Linked DNA regions of Homo sapiens: region 2 is linked to region 1. Evidence: promoter capture Hi-C in 16 types of primary human blood cells and fetal thymus (Javierre and others, 2016). All regions are on one chromosome and are shown on one strand. The core of a region is centred on a gene start or on the middle of the fragment in contact, and the rest is flanking DNA. Distances in the headings are between cores, read along the strand shown. Region 1 holds the start of LINC03051 (long intergenic non-protein coding RNA 3051). Region 2 has its middle 47 kb from the start of TUSC7.

What was found. The method cuts DNA at HindIII sites, captures the fragments that hold promoters and counts their contacts. A CHiCAGO score of 5 or more calls a contact.
Region 2: a contact is called between a fragment that was not itself captured here and the fragment with the promoter of LINC03051 in region 1, in 5 of 17 cell types (monocytes, M0 macrophages, M2 macrophages and 2 more). The highest score is 11.4, in monocytes.

Annotation. Positions count from the first base shown.
Region 1 is chr3:117,994,020-117,999,074 of GRCh38, reverse strand. LINC03051 (long intergenic non-protein coding RNA 3051) reads left to right here and starts at 1,496. Exons shown (of 3, transcript NR_182298.1): 1 at 1,496-1,893. RefSeq lists an enhancer at 1,279-1,825. The HindIII fragment of the contact is 6,554 bases long and covers 1-4,096 here.
Region 2 is chr3:116,754,855-116,759,383 of GRCh38, reverse strand. No RefSeq gene overlaps it. Among named protein-coding and RNA genes, the nearest start is that of TUSC7, 47 kb to the right of the region's middle. The HindIII fragment of the contact is 2,172 bases long and covers 410-2,581 here.

The sequences.
Region 1 (5,055 bases), core at 247-2,746:
TGCTAATGTTGCTTTCACTGGCCTATCGTATGTCATAAGAAAAGTCACTTAACTTGTCTTTGTCTGCATTTCCCACTAATGCTCGAAGAGCTAACATAGCCCTTGAACATATCACAGCATTAGAGATAATTAAAAGTATTTCAGAAAGTATAATGCACAACACGTGTTTATTATGAAAAAGGTGGCAGTAAAACTGAAAAAAAAACATAGAGACATCTTAGACACATTTACACATTGTCGTGGTGAGACTGATGATCAACTGAAATTGGAGAAGAGAGAATTAAATATACTTCTAAAAGTTCTTGAAGCCTGTGAAACAGGGAAGTTGGAAAAGGGGAATAATTCCTGAAGAAAATCACGTGGGTATAGATAAGAAGTTCTCAACTGGGTCAGTTTTTCCCTCCAGGGGGCATTTGGCAATGCCTGGAGATGTTTTTGGTTGTCATAACTAGGAGGATGAGGGTTGTGCTACTGTCAGCTGGTGGACAGAAGCTAGGGATGTTGCTATAAATCCTATAGTGCACAAGACAGCCCCACACAGTAAAGAATTATCTGGTACAGTATGTCAGTAGTGCCAAGGTGGAGAAACCTAGCATAGATATTACAAACAGTTGGAAGGGACCAATATTCATTATCATGTAAATACATGGATGAATAAAATGAAATTCAGAGATTGAATGACTTAGTTAAGGTCCCCAACGAGTGGAGGCCACAGTAACAGAACTGAAATCCAGCTTTCCTAACTACTAGTCAGTGCTCTTCAGAGCGGCCCCATCTGCCTACTCACCCAACTCAGCCCTGGCCCTGAGTCATCCAGTTTGAGATGCTTGGTACCCAGCTGGGAAGTCTAAGCTGAGGGCTAAGCACGAGGTTAGTGGTGGAGGTTTCCATCCTCGTGTAGCTGTAATAGACCTTTTATTTCCAAGTAACTTAAAGAAATTATAACAGAAGATATAAACCAAGAAGTGCAGAGGAACCCAGAGGGCTCTTGGAGGGAAGGTCAGAAGTGCCAGAATTGTTTTGACCCAGTGACTTTGAAATCAAATAAAAAGGAATGGCACACGCTGTGAAGCGCAGCATCAAAATCAAGTAGGATGAGGCTTCAAAAGGCCATTGGACTTTTTGGTGGAGGTCATGGTGACATTTGGAGAAAAATTTCCATAGAGTTGTTAGGAAAGCACTGGAGATTTCTGAGAGGGAGAGGAGCAATGAGGTGATGAAGATGTGCGGCTAGCATGTTCCAAGAGCTTCCTCGTGAAAAGGAGAAATTCAGGACTTATGGGACAGCAAGGTCAAGTCAAGGATTTAAGAAGGCAAGAGCTTCACCTGTGTTTGCTGAGAGCAGAGGGGACTTTGGCGGCGTTGGATAGACTTGGCACAGACACACAGCGAAGAAGAGCCGCGGCGATGCCGTTCTGTGAGCACTAGATGGCAGTAGCGGGGCCCTTTCGGCTCGGTTCGCGGTCCTATAAGGCGCTGCTTGTTTAAGTACATCGCATTTAGTTGAAGCTGCAGGGGAGTGAGGGAGAGGAGGATAGGAAGCAGGAAAGCGGGAGAGCTCGAGGGACAAGGGGGCTCGGTGTGTTTACACCAGGCACGGGCTACGAGCGTCCATCCCGGCCCCTGGCTTGCGCTCCCGAAGAGGAGAGCAAGGCTGTTCTGGGATCCGGCCGTCGTGCGGCAAGAGGCTTGTCTGTCCGGGTTGCCGGAACCAGGAGAACCCAGAGGGAAACCGAGGGAAAGGAGCGGCGCGTTTTACTAGAGAGAGCGCGAGCGGAAGAGGCGAGAGCAGGAGCGCGCGAGGGAGCATCGAGCGCAGCGGAGACATGAGGACCTACTGGCTGCACAGCGTCTGGGTGCTGGGCTTTTTCCTGTCCCTCTTCTCATTGCAAGGTAGGGGGAGGATTCCCTGACCCCTTGCGCCCCCTCCTCCCTGCCGCCGGGCTCCGGGGTGGTCGGTGGAGTAAGAAGCGCTCCGGTTCTGGATGGAACAGGGTTTATTTACAAGTCCTGCGGTGCGCTCCCTGCCCTGCCAGCTCTGCGCCCAGGCTGGGTCCTGAGGCGTGCGGGATTGTGCGGACAGACTTGCTGCAACATCGGTGTTGATGGGGAAAGAAGCCAGGGCTTGTGTGTGTGTGTGTGTGTGTGTGTGTGTGTGTGTGTGTGTGCGCGCGCGCGTGTGAACGGGGGGCAGGATAGAGCGGCGTGTTTTGTGTGTGTGTGTGTGTGTGTGTGTGTGTGTGTGTGTGTGTCTTGGTGGGGTGGGGGCTTTTGCGCGAGGTGGTGGCGACGGAGCTGGGGTTGCTCCTCTGTAAACTCCAAGAGCCGCGGTGGTGTTCGCTATCCCCGTGTCCCCGGTGCTGATATCACTGCATTCCTCCTCTTTCAGGAGGGAATTGGCATTAAGTTTAGGAGGCTAGGTATCCGCTTGGCACCTGGTACTTGTATCTCTCTGCAAAATAGCCCCACCAGATTCTTCTGCCCCGAGATGGAGGAGGGATGCGGGAGGGAAGGGAACGGTGAGTGGGGTGGGGGGAGGGGGACACGGGGAGGGGGGGAGGAGGAGAAGAGGGAGGGAGGAAGAGAGTGGGGTGGGGGAGAGAGAGAGAGAGAGAGAGAGAATGAATACGAGAATTCACGGGTAATCGCTGCGCTGGCTCATAATGGTCAATGTATTTCATGCTTGCAGGACAAAATTGCTAGCGCTGGGTGTTTACTTTGAAGGGATTGTAGGTTTCTATGTTTTGGGGAGGTTGTAAAATAAATTCATGAAGGTTAAAAATGAAAATACATACATGGTGTTTGCATTTCACTTACAAGCTGGCATCCAGAGCCCTCACTGATGTTAAACATACCTATAATACACGAAGTAATTCCAACATAAAAATATATTATCTTTTTAATCTTCCTGTCTCACTCTTCCTGCTCGTGAGAGGAACCTTGCACAATTAGCCATAGAGAGTCTGTGCTATATTGCTCTACCACTGACGGTTCTACTACATCTTCATGTTTGGGCATTCTGCCATCATTAGGACATTTACCCACGCACATCTCTCATGCTACAGAACACACTCCATTTACACACAGTGTACACATGCACACACAAAGACACATACGCACACACACTGCCTCTCAAGAACACTTGGCATGAAATGACCAGACTGGCAATCCTACTCCTGATTTTTTTCTGACAGCTGGTTGCTAATGTTACATTGGTGGGTTTCATTTTTCATTGCTGGGGGATATTTTGTGTAGCTATAAAGCCCTCTTGCTAAATGAAAAGAGAATAGACTCCCTGGCTGTTTACTGTTGAAGCATTGCAAGGGAATGAATACTATGTCGAAGTTATAGTTTAAAATATGCTTAGGGGAACAGCTGGAACTCACCCATAATACAATTACAAGTTACAGGTTCTAAAAACTTTCTCATCTCAGAACTCACTGACCCATTCCTCTCCTATCTAATTTGTGAGCTCTTGCAATACATGATTCTTCTACTAAGCATGTCTAAATGAAAAATAGAGTCCCAATCTTGCTTTGGCTTTTTACATTTTATTTCTTTACATTTTTTCCTTCAAAGCTCACAGGACTTTCTCTGTGATTTCAGATATTGCTGCAATTCAGCTTTTTCATATTGAGACATTAGCATCGTGACTGTACTATGCCAGCAGCAGAGGTTAATCCCTTTCCTTCCTATTCCATTTAACTCTAGGAATTTAGCTCTTCTGATAAAATGCTAAGAATGATGTCATGAATACATGCTCCTCTTAAGTTTGAGTAAAACTATGGGATATTCATTACTCAGCCATGGGGTCTTATGAGTGAAAGGTACTTCTAAAGGATGAGGAAGGTGTAATGGAACACGAAACCAGATAATTATATTTCAGGAGATCTTCTATTAAAAAAAAAAGCCCCCCAGTCTTTTTCAGTGATAACATAGTAAACTATAGTAACAATTCTCTGAATTTTCTGGTCTCATTTGGGCAAAGCAAATAGCTTTTCCTCCCCGGGAATATTGTTCTTTCTAAAGAGGAGTTTTCAAGATTTTGCTAAATAGAGTTTAGCACATTGTGGGAAGTGGCCTCAGTTCTCAAGCTTTGGGATCCCCCAGTGTGTGGCACACACTAGGCAGCAGTAACGTTGAGTAATGGGATAGGAGAAGAAGGCAGTGCAGCTGGATGAGGCTAAGAAACATGGAGATCACTCGCAAACAACTGCCATACACATTATCTCCTGCCATCATCATGGCAGGGCTTGAACTGTTTCCTGACAACATGCTCTCCTCTCTCTTACACATATGTACATGTGGACACACACGTACACACTCCTCAGTGTCAAAGTATGTGGCCCTTTTGAATTGGCCCCATCCCTTGTTTACTATCTCCATTCTTCAGCACAGTTGCTTCTGCTGTTTCTTACCATTATGTTCATGGATTCACAGATTAATGCTGTTCTTGGTGTTCATTGTTAATTAGAATACATTTGTTCAAGAATGTTTAATGTAAGTACTTGAGGCTATGTGGTTCTGAGGTGGAGGGATATTTACAGAATGATTTGGGCTTGCCCCATGAGAAAAAGACTATTTAGTCTAAGTCATTATTTTGTGACCATGGGCAAGTCGGGCATATATTCTTGAGGTTCAGTAATAATTATGTTCTGTTTTTCATGAATGATATAATAATCATTATCATTATTTTGAAATAGATCATAAAAGATAGCTTAGTCAAGATGTGTTCACATGTGAATAAAAACTATAGTTTTTTCTCTGTTGTTCTTTTTCCAAATATCCTAGAGTACTTTGATATAGTTGAGTATATTCATCTATGCAATGTCCTTGTGATGTTGGTAGGGAGAACTTCTAACCTTTTGTGCAATGACGAGAAGGTTATATAATGGCCCAGCCAGGTTTCATCCTTGATATCCTGGCAACTGTAGTTTATATTAATGACATCTCCATTGATAAAGGGTCTCTGAGGTTTCCAGAAGAAAGTTTTTTAGATATTCATGAGTGTACTAATATCATCAATTTACCTGTAACTTTGATTAAGCAAAGAAA
Region 2 (4,529 bases), core at 246-2,745, 1.2 Mb after region 1:
AGAAATACCAGGGATGCCATAGAGCAGAAACTGATACAGAAGCAAGAAACAGATTTTCTCCTCTCCATGTGTTCCTGGAGAGAATGAGAGAAGAGTCCAGCAATGACATCTGAGTCCTTTTTACAGCCTGTGCTCCTAGCCTATTGCCTAGTTAGAGAGGATACTGAAAATATATGCTTTTTTCATTTGGGTAGAGTTTATTAAAATTGAAATAATTTCAAGTCTAACTGTTTTTGCTAATGTGAGTCACATATTTCTAATTGAATCCACTGACCTGGCCACACAGACAGGTCAGCAAATGAAAAGGAAGTTAGCGTTTGGTAACTGCTTAGAGAATCATATTCTACTGTGCCAGAAAAATGTGAGTATCATTGACATATGGTTTATCTTTTAATTCTTACAACAAGCTTAGAGTACCTATTGTTTTATTTCCCAAGATCAGGAATCCAAGGCTCTGAGAAATTAACTGACTCAAGGTAATACAAATAGTAAGTGGAAAACACATGTCTTCAATCCAATAAGTAGAGACTTGTCATTGAAACTTGGGTCAGTATCATGTGCTTATTTCACATTGCATGCCTGTATCAAAACACCTCATGTACCCCATAAATACATACCTACAATGTACCCACAAAATTTAAAAAGAAATTAATGAAAAGCATAAATAAATTCTGAATCCCCAACCCATAAATTTTATTCTAGTTAGTGAAATAAGAAAAAAAAATCCTACATATATACAGTGAGCAAGCACAACGAAAATAGAGAATGGTGCTAAATTATTCATACTAGACAACTGCATTCTAGACTTTCAGAGAAGAATGGTGTGTGTGTGTGTGTGTGTGTGTGTGTGTGTGTGTGTGTGTGTGTGTGTGAAGCATTATCCTTGGTACTCACTTCATTAGCCATAATCATGCATAAGTCACAAGGATATAGGAAATCAAAGTTCGTTAAAAACGCACACTGGCTGCAACTAACCATATGTCCAGTAGAGGGAGCCTACATATCACAATTGAGAGTCCGGCCACAGCAGGTCCAAAATCCTGTTTTTGAAGGGAGCCCTGAGAGATCCGGGAAAACAAATTATCTTCAAGAGTATTTTGGAGGAAGAATCGCTCTGATTTCAAAGAAGCTCACTACCTATATGCAAAGAAAAATGCATATTATTTGCTCATTTCCTGAAGTCACGGAAATCCAGTGGAGTGTCAGATGTTGCCTCTGATTCATTGTATTTTTCAAAGGCTAGAAATGGTCAGTGTTGTCTTGGCCATTGTTGAGGCATTTTCTCCCCAGGCTGTGCTGTGGCATCTCCTGGCCTCATTAATATAGTGGCTGATGGTACCTACTAACCTTCAATGGGTCGCCTCCTACCTATTCTCATTTCATTAGCTTTTTGAAGGACAGGGTAGACTAGATCAAGAAAAGAGATAAAAAGAAATAGTACATATTCACACTTATGTAATTACATCCCCTTCCATGGAAACTTGGGAATAAAGAGGTATTTCAAGGTCATGTAGAAAAAGTAAACCTTAGTTTATTATTTTTAGATTCGTTTTACCTAACACATTCTCTGATAACTGAAGGGGGGAGAGAGGGAAATGGAGAGAGAATGCATTTTTTTAGCCTGCCTTTAAAGGTATTTATTATTATTATTATCTATATTTATTTTTAAAGTTATTCTCATAAAATCTATTTCCTTATAGCAAGCCCCCATTTTTTCCTCTGATTTTTAAGAAATTTTTCTCTCTATTTCTCTCTTCCACATTTTCCTCTCTTTCATTTTCTTTCCCTTCTCCTCTATAGTATCTATTATTTCTCCTCTTTTAAAAACTGTGTCATGTTCCCCGAGGCATTCTTCCATTTCACACACGGATTAACTTAGTCAGCTTTTTTACACAAGCTGCCAGTCTTCTGAAAGTATCCCCATTATACTGCATCAGTTCCATATGATTTGAAAAACAGTGTGAGGAGGACATACCATACCCAAATCCCACTTCTCATTCTAAAGAAGGTGTACTCTGTCTAAAAGGAAGAAGTAGCTGGATCCAAAGGCTTCTGGGCTCAGCTGGGAGACCAAATGATGGCTGTGACATTTATCTTACAAAGTGGGAAAACTCATGGAACCAAGTGGGAAACAGACACATTGACGCTGGGATTTTAAGTGCATGAACCAGGAGAGGAAGAGACAGTAGAACAATTAAGGGCAAAAGAGGGTAAGAATGTAGGTCTGGTTGTTACTGGGGAAAAGAAATGCTGGTGGTAAGGTTAAAGCTGGTGTAAGAGTGCTAACTCTAACTAATTGTGTTACTTGGGTTAGATCACTTAACAATTCTCCAAACCTCATTTTCCCTATCTATATAATAGGAATAAAAATTTTCACATCCACATGTTTGCCACGAGAATAAAATGAGCAATAGATAGAAAGATGCATATTAAAGAACTTAAATGTGACTAAGAATGTAGTTTTGGAAAATGCCGTAATGAGGTAGGGAGGGCATCGGCTTTGTAATCTGAGATTCTGGTCTCTGCTACTTCACTTTCCAGACATTTAACCTCGGCAGAGCTTAGAGGAAGATGCAAAGCTTTTAAACCCAAGTTATGCTTCTGACCTGCTGTGTGATCTTGGATAAGTCATATAAACTTTTGAATTTCTATCTCTGGAATAGAAATTATTTGGAAAATGAGCATAAGTAGTTTCTATTTTAAAGTTGATGAGACTGAATATGATGATCTATGTTGAAGAGCACTGCAGTCAGAGAGGCTCTTTGTCACCTCTTCTATTTTCCTAGCACCATAAAGCCTTTTTGCCCCTCTTGCTAGGGTCTCAATTGATTTAACTCTCCTAACTTCAACCAGGCATTCAGCATGCTCCTTGCTGTAATAAGAACTTTCCAAAAATACAGTCTTTGTTCTAGCCATTGTTTAGTTTATTGTTCCTTCATCGATTTTTTGCTGTATGCAATGTACTAGTACCCAAGCTTGGAGCAAAATCACCTGTCACGTACTACTCTCCTGGCCTGACTCATATTATATCCTGGAGGAAGACACAAATGCTATTACACCCCTGGCTCATGTAAAATCCTTCTAGCCCCACTTCCAAAGAGCACCCTTACTTTATCTCTAATAAATGCTCTAGGACTCTCACTGCAAAGGCTACTGCAGAACTTCCTTCTCCATGTCCCAATAAGCACTTTTAATTGATCTTGATTCCCACTTCACTGAAACAATAGAAGCCATCTGGTGTGACCACCTCCTCTTTACAAAGCTTTGCCACTTTTGTTGCCAAAAATACATGCTTTCCTATTCTCATCTTAATCTTTGACCATTTCTTCTCTTTCTCCTTTGTCTTCTGGACATTCCTGAAGACTTAGTCATATGTGCTTCTAGTCTTCTAGCTTTTCTCAAATGTTGTATGTAGTAAATACATCCGTTCCTGTAGAGTTAACAATCACTTTTGTCCACATGAGTTAAAGTCAGTATCTTTGGTTTGCTCTCTTTTACAAGCTCCAGTTTTTCATATCCAGCTGCCCTCTGGACATTTCAAGATTACTCTGTGTTGGTTAGAACATGGTATGGAAAAACAAAAAATGCATTACCCCTTTCTTTGAAAGTGTATTATTTTTTCCAGTGCCACTATAACAAATTTAGCAGATTAAGACAACATAATTATATTAGCTCACAGTTTTGTAGGTAAGAAAGTCAACACAGCGTGGTTGGATTCTCTGCTCAGAGTCTTAGCAAACTATAATCAACGTATCTGCTGGGCTGTGGTTCTCATCTGGGGCTTGTGAGCCTCTTTCAATCTCACTGGGTAGAATAATCATTTTCTTCTCAGGCTTTCCATGTGACCCTTTTTATGTTCAAGTCAGCAATGGTGGGTAGAGCCCATCTCATGCTTCCAATCTCTCTGATGTCCTTTTCTGCTCTTAAAGATTCATTTGCTTACATTAGCCCTAACTGGGTAATCCAGGATAATCTCCTTATTTTAAGATCAATTTACTAGTAATATTAATTATTAAAACATTGCCATTAAAAGTAATGGCAAAAATCGCAATTACTTTTGCACCAAACTAATACAGTTTCAAAGTCCCTTTTGCCATACAAAGTAATACAGTCACAATCCTGAAGATCAGAATGTGGAATATGATTGAGGGTCATAATTTTTCCTACCAAACACATTACTGAAGACACATCTGCCACAGAAGACCAGAGCTGAAAGAAATATTAGGGACCACCTTGTCCAATCTATTTTCTAGGTGAGGAAAATTGAGATCCAGTTAGTAAATAGACATCTCAAGGTTACCTGCCATTTAGTGACAACATTGGTGCTCTTTTTGCTCCTTCTCAAGTGCAGCACTTGCCGTACTTTCATTTATTCTCATTAATTTCATTTCTTAAAAACCTTGCCATTTTTATTTATCCTGTTGAAGTTATATTTAATCATGAGTCTTCCATCTATTGTACCAACTATCTAACTAAGTTTCGAGTTTTTATTGACTAAAACTGCTAATAAAAATCTTAACAAAAGATAA